2 separate regions of the Homo sapiens genome follow, and region 2 is linked to region 1. The links are contacts of gene promoters, found by promoter capture Hi-C in blood cells and fetal thymus (Javierre and others, 2016). All regions are on one chromosome and are shown on one strand. Each heading gives the region's core, a stretch centred on a gene start or on the middle of the fragment in contact. The rest is flanking DNA. Distances are from core to core; before and after follow the strand shown. Region 1 holds the start of GRIPAP1 (GRIP1 associated protein 1). Region 2 overlaps LINC01560 (long intergenic non-protein coding RNA 1560).

The links. The method cuts DNA at HindIII sites, captures the fragments that hold promoters and counts their contacts. A CHiCAGO score of 5 or more calls a contact.
Region 2: a fragment that was not itself captured here is called in contact with the fragment with the promoter of GRIPAP1 in region 1 in 1 of 17 cell types (activated CD4 T cells); the score reaches 5.0 in activated CD4 T cells.

The regions. Positions count from the first base shown.
Region 1 is chrX:49,000,055-49,004,437 of GRCh38, reverse strand. GRIPAP1 (GRIP1 associated protein 1) reads left to right here and starts at 2,174. Exons shown (of 26, transcript NM_020137.5): 1 at 2,174-2,250. The coding sequence starts at 2,209. RefSeq lists a cis regulatory region at 283-783 and an enhancer at 2,056-2,165. The HindIII fragment of the contact is 9,873 bases long and covers 1,833-4,383 here.
Region 2 is chrX:47,483,395-47,487,777 of GRCh38, reverse strand. LINC01560 (long intergenic non-protein coding RNA 1560) reads right to left here. Exons shown (of 1, transcript NR_126059.1): 1 at 2,551-4,383. Among named protein-coding and RNA genes, the nearest start is that of ZNF41, 2.4 kb to the right of the region's middle. The HindIII fragment of the contact is 1,138 bases long and covers 2,565-3,702 here.

The DNA.
Region 1 (4,383 bases), core at 925-3,424:
CACAAATTAAAACTACACTAAGAGAATGGATAAACAAATTGTGGTATAGTCATACTATGGATTTTGTTTTGTTTTGTTTTGTTTTTGAGACAGAGTTTTCCCCTCTATCGCTAAGGCTGGAGTGCAGTGGCACGATCTCGGCTCACTGCACCCTCCACCTCTTGGGTTCAAGCGATTCTCATGCCTCAGCCTCCTGAGTAGCTGTGATTACAGGCGTGTACCATCACTCCTAGCTTATTTTTGTATTTTTAGTACAGATGTGGTTTCACCATGCTGGCTGGGCTGGTCTTGCACTCCTGACCTCAGGTGATACACCTGCCTCGGCCTCCCAAAGTGCTGGGATTACAGGCGTGAGCCACTGAGCCCGCCCGGCCCATACTATGGAATTTTACTAGTCAATAAAAAGAAAAAAAGATACTTATACACGAAACAACTTGGATGAATCTCAAAAGGATTATGATGAGTGAAAGAAGCCAGACAGAAAAGGATACATCCTGTCTCATTCTATTTGCATGAAACTCTGCAAGAGAAATGTAATCCAGTAACAGGAAGCCAATCATTGGTTACCTGGGATAGGGGGTGGGGTTTGGGATAGGATACAAAGAAATCAATGTTCCCTATCTTGCTTGTGATGGTGGTTACAAGGTTGTATACATTAGACAAAGCTCACTAAATTGTACCCTTAAAATGGGTGCATTTATGTATATAGACAGATCAATAGCGTTATCTTTCAATAAAGTCAATTAAATCAAGAAAGAAATCAAAGAGTCCTGGCTGGCAATACTTTTCTTTTTCTTTCTTTTCTTGGAGACAGAGTCTCGCTCTATCCCCCAGGCTGGAGTGTAGTGGTGCGATCTCGGCTCACCGCAACCTCTGCCTGGCGGGTTCAAGCGATTCTCGTGCCTCAGCCTTCCGAGTAGCTGGGATTACAGGCGCCCACCACCACACCCGGCCAATTTTTGTGTTTTTAGTAGAGATGGGGTTTCACCATGTTGGCCAGGTTAGTCTCGAACTCCTGACCGCAAGTGAACAGCCCTCCTTGGCCTCCCAAAGTGCTGGGATTACAGGCGTGAGCCACCGCGCCCGGCCCTGCTGGAAATATTTTTCCACAGCAGGGAAATCATTAAATTCTACGAAAATAAGAAGGCTGGGCGCGGTGGCTCACGCCTTAATCCCAGCACTCTGGGAGGCCGAGGCGGGCGGACTACCTGAGGTCGGGAGTTCGAGACCGGCCTGACCAATATGGAGAAACCCCGTCTCTACTAAAAAAAAAAAAAAAAATTACCCGGACGAGGTGGCGGGCGCCTGTAATCCCAGCTACTCGGGAGGCTGAGGCAGGAGAATCGCTTGAACTCGCCAAGCGGAGGTTGCTGTGATCGGATATCGTGCCACTGCACTCCAGCCTGGGCAACAAAAGTGAAACTCCGTCTCAAAAAAGAAAAACAACAACAACAACAACAACAAAAACAGAAAGAAAAAAGAAAATAAGAAAAAAACTACACTGAGATACCATTTCTTACTCTCAGATCGGTGAGGGTTATAGTGAATTCTAATACTTGAATGAGCCTGGTGTTTCACCACCCTGGTTTGTTTTTTGTTTTTGTTTTGTTTTAATGTAGCTTTTTCGTTTGATTCACTGTCACTCTTTCCACTCTGCTATTTTTATTGGTGGCTAAGTCCTTTACCTAACGTGACATGCAGTATCATGATAACAAAATAAGTGTCAAACCTTAAAAAAAAAAAAAAAAAAAAAGGCCAAAGGCTTTACAAGAGGTGGGATTCCCCTTTGGGGTCTCCCGGAGGAGGGGCGGGAACAAGACCAGAGCGAAGCTTCCGCTTTCATTTCTATGGTTATTAAGTTACCCATTCTCATTAAAGGAATACCGCGGAAGGGTGATTTTCTGTCGGCAAAGACTTCCCTAGCGACGAGTCCACCCATGAAACGGGGATGTAATAATGTCGTATCACAATGGGTGGCCTAGAAGAGTCCAAAAGCCAATCAGATGACTTACATTCGGGTAGAACGTTGTATTACAGTTCACCTGACTCGTCGGTTTCGTTCTCTTCTCTGCGTCTCCAAAATGCTGCCCTTCGGAATTAGGTTCTACCCCCTCCATTCCTGGCCAGTGGTTTGGTCCGACCTTAATACTGCCAGGAGGCGCGAGCTGCGTCTGCGCAGAAAGCTGGCGGGGGGGTGGGGGGAGGAACATGGCGCAAGCTCTGTCTGAGGAGGAGTTTCAGCGGATGCAGGTGCCGCTCGCGGTGGGAAAGACCACCCGGCTAGGCGACCGGGGGCGGGGTAGCGAGAGGTCGTGCTATCAGCTCTGAGAAGGGGTTGGTTGGGATGGACCCTGAGTTTATGGGGTGGGTCTGGAGAAGGGAAACTGAGGCTCGGAGTGGTGAGACTATTGGATTCCGAGATACTCTGCGGCTTTGAAGGTTGGACTCTGTTAGCATTGTGGGCTGGGAGAGCGCCATTAAGTAGGCGGTACCTTACTCAGACCTGGAGGGGACGAGACTTTTGGGCCCGTGCAGGGGACACCGTCGGCGGGTGATGATAATGGGCTTTGAGGGAAGGAGATCCTGAGAAGGCGAAACCATTTTGTCTGGAGAGGAAGGAAGCGGGTGTTGGGTCGTTTGCGTCATGGTGGTGGGAGCCCTTGAGAGGGCAGAACCATTAGCGGGTGGGAGGTGGTAAGTTTTGGGGGAGATACCACTGTGCCCGGGGATTGGGGAAAGACCCCAGATGTTGTCATTGTTCCTGGGAGGTGGAGATCCTGTGCCATTGGTGGTTGGTAGTGCATCCTAAGAGGGGGCGGCACCATTGGATGATTAAGGGTGATCCCATTAGGCCTGGGGTGAAGAAGGCCATGAATGGGTAATACCATTAATCCCATTAACTGGGGGGAGGACCAGAGGGGTAAAAGATTGATACCTTGGACTACAAGGAGGGAAGATCACTGGGCTTTGGGGAGGTACCCCCACTTGATTCTTTTGGGGGGACTCTGAGATGCAATGAAAGGCCATAGCATTGCACTATGAATGGGCCCTTGTTGAGAGGGTTCCTCACTGGGGGGGGGGTCTGAACAGGGTCCTGCATGGGGAGGGGAGGAACTCTGAGGGAGGACAGGTAATCCAATTGGTCCTTGAATGAGGGAAACCAGCTGTCCCTGTGTGAGGGACACTGAGAATGGAAGGGCGAGTTGATTAACCCATGAATGGGGAAGACCACTGTCATCTGAAAGGGATTCTAAGTGAGTAAGAGTCATCCAACTGGCCTACCCAAGGCCTTGTAGAGGCCTACCCTGAAGGGTGTAGGGCCATTCCCAATGGATCATGACTGGGGAGATCTTGAGGGGAGTGGGAATACCCTTGAATGAGGAACATTGATCCCACTGGGCCATGAATGAGGGAGAACTACTGGGCTTTGTTGGGGGGCAAGTCTCGGGGGGTACAAAGGATATTCCACTTGGACCAGTACTTGGAGAGACAGATCACTGGGTCCTGGAGAGGACAGGAGTAGGAAAGATTCTGTGAAGGCCAAGCCCTCTGACCTTGAGCAGACTACCAGAGAACAGTGAGTGGAGGCTGGTGGCGTGGGAGGGAGGGAAAAGTCCTGGTAGGGGAAGGAACAGTAAGTTCCTTAATGGGAAGGAACCGGCCTTGCTGGGTAGAACCAGCCTCAGGGTCCTATAGGGCTGGTAGGGAGGAGGATGCTTAATTCTTTTTCTTTTTCTTTTTTTTTGAGACAGAGTCTTTCTCTGTCACCCAGGCTATAGTGTGCAGTGGCACGATCTCAGCTCACTGCAACCTCCACCTCCCGGGTTCAAGTGATTCTCCTATCTCAGCTTCCCTAGTAGCTGGGATTACAGGTGCGTACCACCACGCCCAGCTAATTTTTGTATTTTTAGTAGAGATGAGGTTTCACCATGTTGGCCAGGCTGGTCTTGAACTCCTGACCTCAAGTGATCTGCCCACTTTGGCCTCCGAAAGTGTTTGGATTACAGGTGTCAGCCACTGCGCCTGGCACTTTCCCTTAATTCTTTTTTTTTTTTTTTTTTTTTTTTTTTTTTGAGACAGAGTCTCACTCTGTCACCCAGGCTGGAGTGCAGTGGCACAATCTCGGCTCACTGCAACCTCCACCTCCCAGGTTCAAGCGATTCTCCTGCCTCAGCCTCCCGAGTAGCTGGGACTACAGGTGTGCGCCACCACACCCGGCTAATTTTTTATATTTTTAGTGGAGACGGGGTTTCACCATATTGGGCAGGCTGATTTTGAATTCCTTACCTCGTGACCCACCCGCCTTGGCCTCCCAAAGTGCTGGGATGACAGGTGTGAGCCACCGCACCTGGTCCTCCCTTAATTATTGAAGGGGGCCTGGAT
Region 2 (4,383 bases), core at 1,884-4,383, 1.5 Mb after region 1:
CCAGCACTTTGGGAGGCCAAGGCAGGTGGATCCCTTGAGGTCAAGAGTCTGAGATCAGTCTGGGCAACATGGTGAAATCAAGTCTCTACAAATACAAAAATTAGCTGGGCGTGGTGGTACATGCCTGTAGTCCCAGCTACTTGGAGGGCTGAGGTGAGGGGATCACCTGAGCCTGGGAGGTAGAGGCTGCAGTGAGTAGAGATCGTGCCACTACACTCCAGCCTAGGTGACAGAGTGAGACCCTGTCTCAAAAAATAATAATAAAAAATAAAATAAATAGCCAATGAGCTTAGACGCTACCTTATTAGACAGCTAATACAGTGAAAAAAGAAGAAATATATCAAATGTCAGATAGGAAATATTATCTATATCTGATACAACTGTACAATTAGAAAACCTAGGAAAAAACTGTAATAAGAAGCTACCAGAATAGGTAGATAGTTTTGATAAGGAGTTGGATACAAGATAAAATTATCACCTGTAGTCCCAGCCATTAGGGAGGCTGAGGTGGGAGGATCACTTGAGTCCAGGAGTTTGACACCAGCCTGGGCAACATAGGGAGAACCTATCTCTACGGAAAAATTTAAAAATTAGCTGGGTCTGGTAGTGCACACCTGTAGTCCCAGCTACTTGGGAGGCTGAGGAAGGAGGATCATTTGAGCCTGGAAGGTTAAGGCTACAGTGAGCTGTGATCATGCCAGTGAACTTCAAGGCAAGATCCTATCTCAAAAAATAAAAATAAAAGAGAAAAGTACAAAAATAGGTTATTCCTATACTAGCAGTAACCAGATGGGACTAGCAAAAATAAGTCTTAATGACAACAAAAATATAAATATGCAAAAAATAAATTTAACCAAAAAAGATAAAAAGATGATGGATTTATAAGAAGAAAAATTATAAATATCATTGCAGCATATAAGACGTAATCAAACAGACACATAAAATCCCTAGATACAAAGAAAGGCTTAATGTAATAAAAACATTAAATCTCCCCAACTATTATATTCATATAAATATAATTCCAATAAAATCATAATAGTTTATTTATTTTTTTTTTTGAGACAGAGTCTTGCTCTGTCACCCAGGCTGGAGTGCAGTGGCACGATCTTAGCTCATTGCAACCTCTGCCTCCCGGGTTCAAGCAATTCTCCTGCCTTAGCCTCCCGAGTAGCTGGGATTACAGGCGTGCGTCACTGTGCCAATTTTTGTATTATTAGTAGAGATGGGGTTTCACCATGTTGGCCAGGCTGGTCTTAAACTCCTGACCTCAAGTGATCTGCCTGCCTGGGCCTCCCAAAGTGCTGGGATTACAGGTGTGAGCCACCTCACCCAGCAATAGTTGAGGGTTTGCTTTTTTTTTTTTTTTTTGAGAGAGTCTCACTCTGTTGCCCAGGCTGGAGTGCAGTGGCGTGATCTCTACTCATTGCAACCTCCACCTCCTGGGTTCAAGCAATTCTCCTGCCTCAGCCTCCCAAGTAGCTGGGATTACAGGTGCCTGCCACCACGGGTGGCTAATTTTTTTATTTTTTAGTAAAGACAGGGTTTCGCCATGTTGGCCAGGCTGGTCTCCAACTGCTGGCCTCAAGTTATTTGCCCACCTTGGGCTCCCAAAATGCTGGGATTATAGGCATGAGCCACCTCGCCCAGTCACAACAATTTAGTTTTGCTGTGTTTTTGTTTTTTTTTGCGGGGGGTGGGGGACGGGTTGGTAGCATTCATTTTTGATTAAATGATTTTAAACTTCAGAGAATTCCTAGAAAATAAATTTGCAAGAACAAAAATCCCTTGAAATCAAATAGACTACAGACACAAAATAGAGTTCAGGTCAAGCTAAGCATATTTGTGAACTTATATGACAGAAGCAATATTTAATTCAGTGGTTACAAGGTGGTGTGTTTCATAAATGGTGCCAACTGGCAATACTGAATTTTACCTCATCCTGGTGAGCAGTGCAGGTCAAGAAATCCCCTTACTCCAAAGGGAAAATGGCTTTTCTGGAAAATGGCTTACTGCAAAGAACCATCCTTCCCCATATGACTTAGAAGTCACGGATGTCCCCTGTTTACCTATGAGAAGGCCAGACACCCACTCTCCAAATTCCCATTCTTTGCCTCATAGATGACAAGCCTAACTGCTTGTCTCCACTGATCAATTGGAACAAAATGCTCTTTAGCCAAACTTGAACCAGGCTTCTTTCCTACAAGCTCCTAACTCTGCTTGCCCCCGAGCCTGGGCAAGCATCAAAAAAAGTCGAAATTCCTCCCCTCCCAATGGACCCTGCTTCTCAGCTTCTCCTGGGAATGGGCGCACCACTGTGGGACAATTTCCTGGCAGACCCCACTGGCCATTCCCCCTTGTTTGTGCAGCTTCCTTTCCACAGATTCTGCTTATCTCTGCCTGCCTCCTTACCCTCTACAAGAAAAGCCTTTTTCTGTTTGGTTTCAAGATGCTCTCAGGTTTCTGAGATGGGAGCATTCTCCCTTTTGCAATAGTCTGTCTTTCTAATTAAAGTCTCTTTTTATTTGACACAGAAAAAAGTGTGACACAGGCTTCTTGTTCAAGCTTGATCTTGATTTCATACCATATACCAGAGTAAATTCCAACTAGATTAAAGTAGAAAAAATTAAAGCAATAAAAACACTGAAATACATGTTAAGATTATCTTTCTATCTGGAATAGGGAAGTGAAACTAGGCAAGATGGGATATACAAAAGCCATAAAAGAAAGTTTAGACATATCTGATCAGAGGCTACATTTCACTAGTTACATATTACACATACAATTTTTCTTTCTTTTTTTTTTTTGAGATGAAGTCTTGCTCTATCACCCAGGCTGGAGTGCAGTGGCCCGAGCTCAGCTCACTGCAATCTCCACTTCCCAAGTTCAAGCGATTCTCCTGCCTCAACCTCCCGAGTAGCTGGGATTACAAGCGCCCAACACCATGCCCGGCAATTTTTTTTTTTTTTTTTAGTTGAGATACCACGCCTGGCTATTTTTTTTTTTATTTTTAGTAGAGATGGGTGCTGGGATTACTGTGCCCAGCCCATATAAAATTTTTCTAATTGCACATTTAAAAAAACATAAAATGCAAAAGACAAAAAGAGTTTAGGGAAAAATACTGCAATGTAACTGACAGATGGTTAATATCCTTAATGGACAAAGATGTTAATATCTCTAATGTAATATCCCTAATGTACAGTGTAACTGACAGACTGTTAATATCCCTAATGTACAATGTAATTTGTACACTGTTTACAAATTGATACGAAAAGGAAAAATCACCCTAAAGAAAACTGGACAAAGGATATGAACATTTGCAAAAGAGAAAAGCCAAATGGCCAATAGACCAAAACAATCCTCAATTGCACAAAGTAGTCAGAAAAATACAAAATTAAAGACAGCATCAACATCCAGCGCTGGAGGGGATTTGCCTTAATGAACTTAATGATTTTGCTGGTAGGACTAGGAAACTTTATAATCTTTTGGGGGAAGGAATTTGGCTATATCTATTCAGTAATGAAACCTGCAGTTAATAATAAAACTTCAAAACATAGGAAGCAAAAATTGAATAGCACAAGGAAAACCTGCCAGTACAGTCTCTCTCTCTCCTCTCTCTCTTTCTCCCTGCCACATCACCCCCAGTTGACAAGCTGAAGGGAATTATCAGGAAACACACATTTTAAAAGGCCCAACGCACAAGCTTGAACCAATAGAGCCGCAGAGTACGATAAATCCAACAACTAGAAGATACAGTGTTTTCAATCAAGGCACAAAACCATTTTTGAAAGCTGGCCTCGTACTTGAGCCTTAAGGCAAGTTTCATCAAATTTCAAACTCAACGTTCTTGGGCCACAAGGCAAATGGGCTTAGAAATCACTAACACAGGGATTAACTTCTTGTTCGTTTGCGGAAATGCAAAATGGTGTTAAGACCTGTAACATTTTCTGCAGTCCCTCTAAATTCCTTCTTTGAATAATCGATTCCTAGAACAGGACGCGACGGACCAAGCTGGGTCAAACTGCCGACAGCTCCATTGGGCAGCATGTCCACCCCTGATGACCAAATCCCACCAAACGTGCAGCTGGCACTCGGCCGCCTTTGTTTCCTTCCCCTAGAATAAAACTCCGCTGCTTTCCCACGTTCCTGGAGCAGCAGCCGGAATAAAGCGCCCATGGCCTTGCCCTTTGAGTCTCGGAGGATGTTTGCCACTCCAACAATGGACTTTTAAATAATTCAGGGGTCAAAAGGCGTGTGTGGGGGGGGGAGAAAAGTTACAAATCAGCACTTGAAACCGAACACAAACAAAAATCAAACAAATCCGAACTAATATAACAAATCAAAACTTTGATCTTTAGAAGAAAACTTCAACCTTAATGCTTCCAG